Regions from separate parts of the Homo sapiens genome. Here all the other regions are linked to region 3. Evidence: promoter capture Hi-C in 16 types of primary human blood cells and fetal thymus (Javierre and others, 2016). All regions are on one chromosome and are shown on one strand. Each heading gives the region's core, a stretch centred on a gene start or on the middle of the fragment in contact. The rest is flanking DNA. Distances are from core to core; before and after follow the strand shown.

Region 1 (3,040 bases), core at 271-2,770, 240 kb before region 3:
CACTTTCCTCCTCTTGTCCATTTACGATTGTACTCAACAAGCACTTTCGACTGGACCGTCAGGAGCGAGACAAGGTGATCCTTCTGCTTGACTTGTTTTCCCACCGAGAGCTCTGCGGCTGCGTCTGTCGCCCGTGGGGCTCGCCCTCACCTCGCCTCTTCAAGTGATGCTTCATTGAAGTCATCATAAATCTCAGTATCTATCATGTTTCCATTTTTCTACACCAGAACAAGTGGGGCTTTGAGAGACAGAAACCGTCCTGGCTCTTCCTGTGGGTCCCTCTCTCGCGCCTGCAGAACACAACTGGGCGTGTCGTTCATATGTGGCCATTTTGGGCGTTGCTGATAGAGACTTTATACACAGATCTGGCTTAAAAAACAAACCCGGGGCCGGATGTGGTGGCTCACGCCTGTAATCCAGGCACTTTGGGAGACTGAGGCGGGTGGATCACCTAAGGTCAGGAGTTCGAGAACAGCCTGGGCAACACGGCAAAACCCCGTCTCTACTAAAATACAAAGTCAACCGGGTGTGGCGGCGTGCGCCTGTAATCCCAGCTACTCGGGAGGCTGAGGCAGGAGAATCGCTAGAACCCGGAAGGCAGAGGTTGCAGTGAGCCGAGATCAGGCCCCTGCACTCCAGCCTGGGCGACAGAGCAGGACTCCTTCTCCAACACCACCACCAACGACCTGGAAGCAGTTGAATGTTTTGGGAATACTGGCCTTTTCCACATTCATCAAAGACATGGCAGTGGTGAGTATGACTCATATTACACATCTGGAATTATTTGGGGCGTGAATGAGTCGTTTTTCCGAGTTGGGGCTGGCACAGCATCTTTTACTAACTGCACAGTAGCCAAGTCAATGGTTCTCAGAGATTGCAGGTTAAAGAACCCAAATCATCTTCAGAAGAGCTGAGCCTCAGCCTAGCTGTGAGGCACTGACTACAGGGCGTGGAAGGCCCAGTTCCTTCCCTGGCAGGCGGTCAGGCAGGGCCAACACTAACGCGGTGGAGCCGCTGGGGAGGCCCTGGGGAGGACAGACAGGAGGCTGGGCTCTACCCAGCCCCTCTGACCACAGCAGCCCAAGTGTCCTGGGCTTCTCAGGACTCAGCACTGAACCTGCCAGGCTGCCCCAGCAGGACGTGGAAGGGGGCCCAGGAGAAGGGTGAGGCCTCCCTAGTGCCCTGGCCTCACTCTCCTACCCAGCGGGACAGGACAGGACTCAACTGGGTCCCACCTGGGCCAACAACAAGGACGTCCCTGGGCACACAGGAACACAATCTGGCCAGCAATGCGGAGTGGCAGCTTAGGGACAATGCATGTGGCATTGCTGGAAACACATCACCAAAGACCACCCAGAGATGTGACCAGGGAGCCCAGGACCTAACTTCACTTTAACTTCAGTTTTTTTGTTTTGAGATGGAATCTCACACTGTCGCCCAGGCTGGAGGGCAGTGGAGCGATCTCAGCTCACTGCAACCTCCGCCTCCTGGGTTCAAGCGATTCTCCTGCCTCAGCCTCCTGAGTAGCTGGGACTACAGGCATGCACCACCACACCCGGCTAACTTCTGTACTTTTAATAGAGACAGGGTTTCATCCTGTTGGCCAGGCTGGCCTCAAGTGATCCACCCGCCTCGGCTTCCCAAAGTGCTGGGGTTACAGGTGTGAGCCACCACACCCAGCCTAACTGTAGTTTTAAGAAAAATTTCTCTATTCATAAAGCTGGAAAGAATTCTAGGGAACAACCTCTCCACAGTTTAGAGCTACAGACACCAACGTGGAACAGTATCTAAAGCGTCACCCAAAAACCCAAGTGGCAGGAATACCTGCAGCAAGGCACCCAGCACGGAAGGCGGGAGCACAGGCGCGCAGTTCCGTAAACCGCCAGGTCAGGAGGGAAGCGGGTCCAGATTTGGGGCTGGGCCGTGGGGGTGGGAGGGAGGGGGCCGGGTGGGCGCCCAGGCACTCTCTGTTACTCGCTATACCCTTCCCCACACGTGAGTTATTATATTACAACCAAAATGGCTTAAAAAGAAAAGTGCTTCAATCTTCCTTGTCAATGAAAGCAGCAATTCTGCCAGATCTCCTCTGTGAGGCAGGAGGAGGCTGATCCCAGACAACTCAGGGTCCCAGGCAGGAGACCGGCAGTCCTGGCGTGAGCAAACGCCTGGGGCCAAGGAGGCCACCCAGGGGCATGTCACCCTCTGTGGCCATGGCCAGGGTGGGGCTGGGTCAGGACGAGCAGCCCTGTGCACCTACCGTCGGCTGCGGCGGGCGTGAGGGGAATGTACTCGGCCGACGTGGGGCTGCTCAGGGACACACGGGCTCCTGAGAGGTCAATCTTTGTGCTGCGGCAGGTGTTGGAGCAGACCTTGTCATGCTGGTAGAAGTCCAGTTCCCCGGAGTCCATGATCTTCCTGTGACAGACAGTGGCATGGAGCGTCCAGGTCGGCCCCAGAGCCGAAGGCACCTGGCCCGCCCACCCTGACCTGGGCCATCCACCTGCGTGGGGCAGGCCTAGCAGAGGCGCTGGCAGCTCCACAGGGCAGGGTGGGCTCTACTTCCCTCTTAGCGCGAGCTCGGCGTGCAGGACCCTGCTGCTGAAGAAGCAGCCGGCCCAGGCCCACGCTACGGCACTGTCCCCAGGAAGGGGGCAAGCGCTGGCCAGTGGGTGTCCTGGAGGTGCCCGTCAGAGTCTGTGGGGCTGGGCCTTTCTGGGATGTCCCACTACCCCAGCCCCAAGGGAGTGACCCACAGCTAACAAAGGTGGGCCCAGTCCACCTGCATCATGCGTGACTCATTCTGAAGCAGAGGAAGGTGGGAAATCACTTCCAGGAGAACCTTCCTCCTTCTAAAGGCACAGAGACAGCCAAGAAGAGTGATGAGGGCGCAGGACAGCACCAACGGCCATGGCTGCCGCTCATCCTCATCTTTACCAGGAAGGCTTCGTACGGCCCAAACTGCTGAGAGCCGCCCTCCCAGGGCCCTCTCTTCTGCCTCTCCGGAGGTCCAGGGTCTCAGTCCTGTGTGTCTCAACGAGCC
Region 2 (3,430 bases), core at 543-3,042, 220 kb before region 3:
ACCTCCATTTCTAGAAACATGCCCCTCTGACCCCACCTCCATTTCTAGAAACATGCCCCTCTGACCCACACCTCCATTTCTAGAAACATGCCCCTCTGACCTCACCTCCATTTCTAGAAACATGCCCCTCTGACCCACACATCCATTTCTAGAAACATGCCCCTCTGACCCCACCTCCATTTCTAGAAACATGCCCCTCTGACCCCACCTCCATTTCTAGAAACATGCCCCTCTGACTCCACCTCCATTTCTAGAAATTAATCCTGCAGACATGGTGTTCCCACACTGGCATGAGGGTTGTCTGAAACAGGGAACAAGTCTCCAGTTTCTGGAACCCGTGCGGGCAGCTGCCTCTGGGGAGATGATGTGGAGAAGCTGGGAGAGGTCTGGGTGGGGTTCCCAGCTGTGCACCTCATAACAGCCAACTGTATGATGTGTGCACTTCTAAACTTCCAGAAGTTTGCTTAAAAACACACGCACACCAGCCGGGCACGGTGGCTCACACCTGTAATCCCAGCACTTTGGGAGGCCGAGGCAGGCGGATCACAAGGTCAGGAGATCGAGACCATCCTGGCTAACACGGTGAAACCCCGTCTCTACTAAAAATACAAAAAATTAGCCGGGCGTGGTGGCGGGCGCCTGTAGGCCCAGCTACTCAGGAGGCTGAGGCAAGAGAATGGCGTGAACCCGGGAGGTGGAGGTTACAGTGAGCCGAGATCGCGCCATTGCACTCCAGTCTGGGCGACAGAGTGAGAATCTGTCTCAAAAAAAGAAAACAAAACAAAAAAAACATGTAGCAAGAGGAAGTCTCAATTTCCAGATGGTAGAAGAACAGATTTAATTCCCCACAAAAAAGAAGAGGATCTTTAAGTCCTTCAAGACAGCCCTGCCTCAGCTGCCACGTGGGGTTCTCTTCTCAGAGAAGAAGGCGCATGCAGACTCTCCACTGCTCCATAAGCCACTGTCCCGCGAGGGCAGAGCCTTGGCGTCCTGGCAAAGCAACTGCAGACTGAAAAATGCCCTCTGGTCCTTCATGGCTCCCTCCATCAAGACAGGGGGCTATTTCCCACCCCCTCCACTTGACTTTGGGCCAAGCTTTGAAGAGCTTTGACCAAGAGGCTGTGACGAGGCCCTACGAGGACTCTGGCTCTCCTCCTGCTAAGCACACCCAGGCAGGTGTCCTGGCAGATGAGGACCACATGCAGAGCCTCGGCCAGCCCACCAATGCCCGGATATGCAAGTGAGCCCAGCCTGGACCCCCCGGCGAGGCCCAGCAGCACCAGCCCAGGCCCGAAAACCTTAAGAAATGACCAGTGTCTGCTGCTTTAAGCCACCAAGCTCTGCGGTGGTTTGTTAGGCTGCAAGCATGGCTAATTCAGAAACTGCCAGAAACAAGCACTGCTGTCCCCAGCCTGGGACACACAGCACCGCCTCTGCGTGGGGAGAGGGCACAGGCTAAGGGCACAAATGCCATCCCAGACCCGGCTCTTGTGTGTGGAAGGGGCCACTGTGCCATGAGGCAGAGGAAACCTTGGCAGGACCTTATGCCACAGCAATTTAAAAGAGAAGAAACAGGCTGGGCGTGGTGGCTCATGCCTATAATCCCAGCACTTTGGGAGGCCAAGGTGGTGGATCACTTGAGGTCAGGAGTTCAAGACCAGCCTGGCCAATATGGTGAAACCCTGTCTCTACGAAAAATACAAAATTTAGGCAGGCGTGGTGGCGGGTGCCTGTAATCCCTGCTATTCAGGAGGCTGAGGCAAGAGATTTACTTGAACCCGGGAGGTGGAGGCTGCTGCAGTGAGCTGAGATCATGCCACTGCACTCCAGCCTGTGTGACGGAGTGAGACTTGGTCTCAAAAAAAAAAAAGGAAACACATCTGACTAGTGTGATCTCGCAAGGAACATTCCAGACACAGTGGAGCTAGAAGGTTCTTCTCCAAACAAGGAATCCCCAGGGGATCAAATTGTTTTGCATCGGCCAGACATGGTGGCTCAAGCCTGTAACCCCAGTGCTTCGGGAGGCTGAGGTGGGAGGACTGCTTGAGTCCAGGAGTTCAAGACTAGCTTGGGCAACACAGTGAGAGCCCATTAGCCAGGCGTGGTGGCACATGCCTGCAGTCCCAGCACTGTACTAAAAATCTACACGGGGCCGGGCATGGTGGCACATGCCTGTAGAGTCCCAGCTACTCAGGAGGCTGAGGCAGGACGATTCCTTGAACCCAGGAGGTCACGGCTGCCATGAGCCGTGACTGTGCCACTGCACTCCAGTCTGTGCAACAGAACGAGACTCTGTTTCGAAAAACAAAAAATCATTTCATGTCTCCAGTTTCTCCACTGGCAAAAGACTCTGTCAAGGTAAAAAATGGTTCTGACCCACAGAAATCTAAGAAAGGAAAAAATATAAAAAATAGAAAATTTAAAAAAGAGATGGTCTCAGAATAAAGACCAACCTGGGCTATGGTTGTCACTCTTCCCTCACACCTTAGAAAGCTTTCTGGCCGCATCTGGCCAAAGGGCCACCCTGCCCCATCTTGGATCAGTGAGGTGCCTTCGAACAAGCCACCTGCCCTGGAGCCCGTCCTGTCTTGTCTGCCACCGCACGCTCAGTAGGGGAGGGGAAGTCGCTAGGTTTTAGTTCACCAGTCTCTGGATCAAGACGTGCCATAACCAAGAAGCCCCAGCCACACCCAGACCCGACGTGGCCACAAGGGGTGAGCTGGGAAGGCCCAGGAAAAGGCGGGAGGCGGACGAATGGAAATGTCATTCTGTGGCCACAGAAATGATCTCAACGTTTTGTAACTTCCTACCAAGAGGCAGTCTTAGCTCTGCCCTTGAACCAGCACTTGGTGATGTCGCTTGCGTCAATCAAGGCAACAGAAGTGAGCAGGAGGCCCACTTTCCTCTGCAACTGTGGGCTTACGGGGCAAAGAAGTCCAGGCCTCCAGGTGGAGGATCACAGACCGGGCAAAGCAGAGGAGAGCCACCCAGCCGAGCCTACCTGTGCCTCAGACTGCCTCCCTCCAGAGACCCCTGTGGCCAAGGCCACCCAGACCAGCAGGTCCTTGCCAAGCTGTCAGCTGACGACAGGGGTTGGTGAGGCCGGCCCAGACCAGCAGAACCACGAACCAACCAACAGAATTAAAAATAATAACAACTATGTCTTGTCTTAAGCCACTAAGTTTTGGATGGTTTCTTTCTTTCTTTTTCTTTTTTTTTTTCGGAGACGCAGTCTCACTCTGTTGCCCAGGCTGGAGTGCAGTGGCGCAATCTTGGCTCACTGCAAGCTCTGCCCCCCGGATTCACGCCATTCCCCTGCCTCAGCCTCCTGAGTAACTGGGACTACAGGTGCCTGCCATTGGGTGTTTTCTTAAACAGCAAAAGAAAACTGACACAATCATAAACAGAGCAAGCAAGAGAACTTGGCAAT
Region 3 (3,049 bases), core at 485-2,984:
TTTTTAGGGGACACAGTAAGTTCCCACCTAAATTTGCAGTAACTTGTGCCCAAGTACTCCCCTCACTCCTCAGTCCTTTCTGCAGTGGTAACCAGGCTGAGGTGCCCAAAAGTGCCAGTTGGAAACACGTAAAACACACCGAGCAGAAAGGTTCTACTCTGATAAATACTGTCGCTTGCTTCATTATTCATGTGAAAAACCCCTTCTATACATTTCCTTTTGATGAACAAACTATTTTCCACTCTTGTAGAGTGAAATAGTGCCTTGCAGAGGCAGCGTGAGTGCCAGCAGCAGAGATGTATCCAGTCTGTTACCCAAACGGGAAGTTAGCTCTGATAATAGAGCCAATATGAAAGATTCTACAATCGATACAATTAAAATGCCCGTGAGTTCTCGGCGCACAGGTGTCTGCGCCCAGGCCGCGCGCTAAACACGTTTCTAATTAGCATTTCTTTAAACAATGCTGATCACAATCTTGCCACCGTAATCCACTCCAAATGCATCGTTGAGATTGCAGCACGGAAAGCGAGAGAGGAAATTCGCTGCGAATCTCAAACTTTCTTTTGTTTATATTTCTTCGCTGTCAGAAAATATCCGTTCTTCGCCCCATCTGGTCTGTACCCTGGCTCCTCGGTCCAGCCCTATTGTGTGTGCTTCGTTAAACCTACAAACAGTGAATCTGTCAGCGGGGCCAGGGGAACCCCAACTAGCAGGAGCCCTCCCTCTGGCGCAGAGAATTCCCCGTTTGCCTTAGGGATTGAGTTGTCAGACACCGGCTCGCGCTCCCCCGCGAAACTGACATGTCTATTTACAGAGAAACAAAGACGCGGCTCGCAGCGGACCCCGCTTCCTCCGCGCGCCCCGTCCGCCCCGCGCGCCCCGAGCCCTCCGCGCCCCGAGCCGCCCCGCCCCGAGGCCCCTGCGCCCCGGTTCGGCCGGCGATTAAGATGGAGACCAGGCCGGCGCCCGGCGTCCGGGGAGACAATGACCCCCCGGCCTCAGGGCGCCGGGACCCGCCCGCGCCCACCTCCCGCAGTTCCGACTCTTGGCAAACTCGGCGCGGGCGGCTCCGGGTGCGGCTGGGCTGTGCCGGCGGGGGGCGCGGGCGGGGGGCGCCAAGACGCCCCCGGGCTGCCTCGGGGCCAGGCGTTGACGCAGCAGAAATTACCAGCTGGAAAATTCCCCTCTCGGAGGTGCCGGGGAGGGAGCGCGGCGGCGGCGGGAGGTGCCGGGGGCCGAGGGGCCGGGGCAGCCCAGCCGCCTCCGCGCTCAGCCCCGCGGGGAACCCGCGCCGCCCCCGCGCGCCCCGCCCCGCGCCGCCGGCCTGGGGGGCACCCGCGGGGGCCGGGCCGGGGTCTCCGCCGCCGCCCCCGGAGCCCGCGCCGCAGCTGGGAGCGCCGATGGCCCCCGGGAGGGCGCCCCCGCGGGGCGGGGCGTGGCGGGGCGGCCGGCGGCGGGGGCGCGCCCGGGCTCGCAGCGGCCCCGGCTCCCGGCTCCCGGCTCCGGGCCCGGCCCCCGCCGCGATGCGCCCGCCCGGCCGCGCGGACAATGAGCCGGCGCCGCTTACCTGTGACCCCATGGGGCGCGGGCGAGGGCGGGCGCCGCGGCCGCCGGGCCGGCGCCGGTGATCGCCGCCGCCGCCGGGAGGGCGCTGCGTCCGGGCGGGTCCGAGCTGCGCGCTCGCCGGGGCTGCTCGGTCCGTCCGTCCGTCCGTCGGTCCGTCAGGCCGGCGCGCGCCCCCGCGCCCGCTCCAACCCCGCGGCCCCCGCCGCCCGCGCGCGCGCGCCCCGCCCGCGGACCCTGACCCCGCCCCCCGGCGCGCGCCCGGCCGCCGCTGATTGGCCCGCGCCGCGCCCCGGCCGCGGCCACCGCCCCGGGCCCCGCCCACGCCGGCCCGGCCGCCGGCCCCGCCCCTCGCTCGGCTCCCGGCGCCGCGCCGCGGGGTCGCAGGGGGCCGCGCCGGGGGTCCGTTCTCCCCCCCGCGGGCAGCCGGACAGCGGAAGTGCGGGCTGGAGCTCGCTGGGCATTGTGGGAAGCCCCCTCCCCTGGGCTGGCGGGGGGCTGGGGCGGCGCGGCGCGGGGGTCCCCCTGGCCCCCGCTGCGCCCTTGCCCCGCGAGCGCGGAGCAGCCTGGAAACACCCCACGGGAGCGGCGACCCCGGCGAGGGCACCCGCTCCCTTCCCGGGCCGCGCACCGGGCGCTGCCCACGCGCAGGTTCCTCGGGGGCGCGCGGGTGCCCAGGTCACCGGCCGTCCCCGCGCCTGACGCGCGGTTGCACTGCGCGCGTCTCGCAAACTTGGCGACTCCCCCAGCCCGGCCGGGCATCAACGCGGGCCGCTCGCGGTGCGGAAAAGGCGCCCCCAAGGAAGGCCGCCCGGGGTGCGGGGTCTGGAAGGGCCTGGGCACCGCGCGCGCCTACCCTCGGGGGCCTCGGCGCACCCGGAGATCGGCGCACCTCGGGCGCAGGCCTCGTGGGGGTGCCCGCCAGTGGGGCTCGCTTTTGGCTGACTAGGGGCACCGGCGGCCGCGCGTGGGTCCCTCCCGTCGTGTTGTCTGCGGGGGACGAATGGCTCCGGGAGGGGGCGGGAACCAGCGGCCCGGGCCTCGCCCCAGCCCGTGTGCAGCCCCGATCCGAACGGCCTGGGACGCGTCTCCACCACTCGGCGCCCGGACTCTGCGCGTCGCTTCTCGCCTCCGCCGTCCTCAGCCCTCGGGCGGGTAGAGTGGGAAGCGCGGCCCCGCATTCCTGGCCGGCCTGCGCAGGGGTAAAGGCCACCTCGCTTCCTCTCCCCGGGCGCGGCGGGAAGGGAGGTGAGCCTGTGGCCGGCAGCCGCGCGAGGGAGTCGAGCCCGGCCCGGCCAACCAATGGGGAGGCGCCCGGGCCGTCCAGCCTGCCTCCCTGCGGGCCCAGCGCAGCGGATTCCTCGGGAGGTGGGAGGCGGCGGCCCTATGGGTGCTTTCAAATCTGGATGTGTGAGGCGCATTCAGGAGCGGCAGTGGGAGGCGGCTGAGGGCTCTCCATGAGTGAGCAAAGGCGAAGCGAGGTGTG

Evidence for each region. Contacts are between HindIII fragments. The CHiCAGO score rates a contact against its expected background, and 5 or more counts as called.
Region 1: a fragment that was not itself captured here is called in contact with the fragment with the promoter of ZBTB46 in region 3 in 1 of 17 cell types (monocytes); the score reaches 6.1 in monocytes.
Region 2: a contact is called between a fragment that was not itself captured here and the fragment with the promoter of ZBTB46 in region 3, in 2 of 17 cell types (monocytes and M1 macrophages). The highest score is 7.5, in monocytes.

The regions. Positions count from the first base shown.
Region 1 is chr20:63,593,353-63,596,392 of GRCh38, forward strand. GMEB2 (glucocorticoid modulatory element binding protein 2) reads right to left here. Exons shown (of 10, transcript NM_012384.5): 6 at 2,258-2,415. Among named protein-coding and RNA genes, the nearest start is that of HELZ2, 21 kb to the left of the region's middle. The HindIII fragment of the contact is 6,029 bases long and covers 1-3,040 here.
Region 2 is chr20:63,609,757-63,613,186 of GRCh38, forward strand. The region is part of intron 2 of GMEB2 (glucocorticoid modulatory element binding protein 2); the gene reads right to left. Among named protein-coding and RNA genes, the nearest start is that of GMEB2, 16 kb to the right of the region's middle. RefSeq lists an enhancer at 737-906. The HindIII fragment of the contact is 1,398 bases long and covers 1,094-2,491 here.
Region 3 is chr20:63,829,530-63,832,578 of GRCh38, forward strand. ZBTB46 (zinc finger and BTB domain containing 46) reads right to left here and starts at 1,735. Exons shown (of 5, transcript NM_001369741.1): 1 at 1,568-1,735. RefSeq lists an enhancer at 1-170 and a silencer at 1,753-1,892. The HindIII fragment of the contact is 15,017 bases long and covers 1-3,049 here.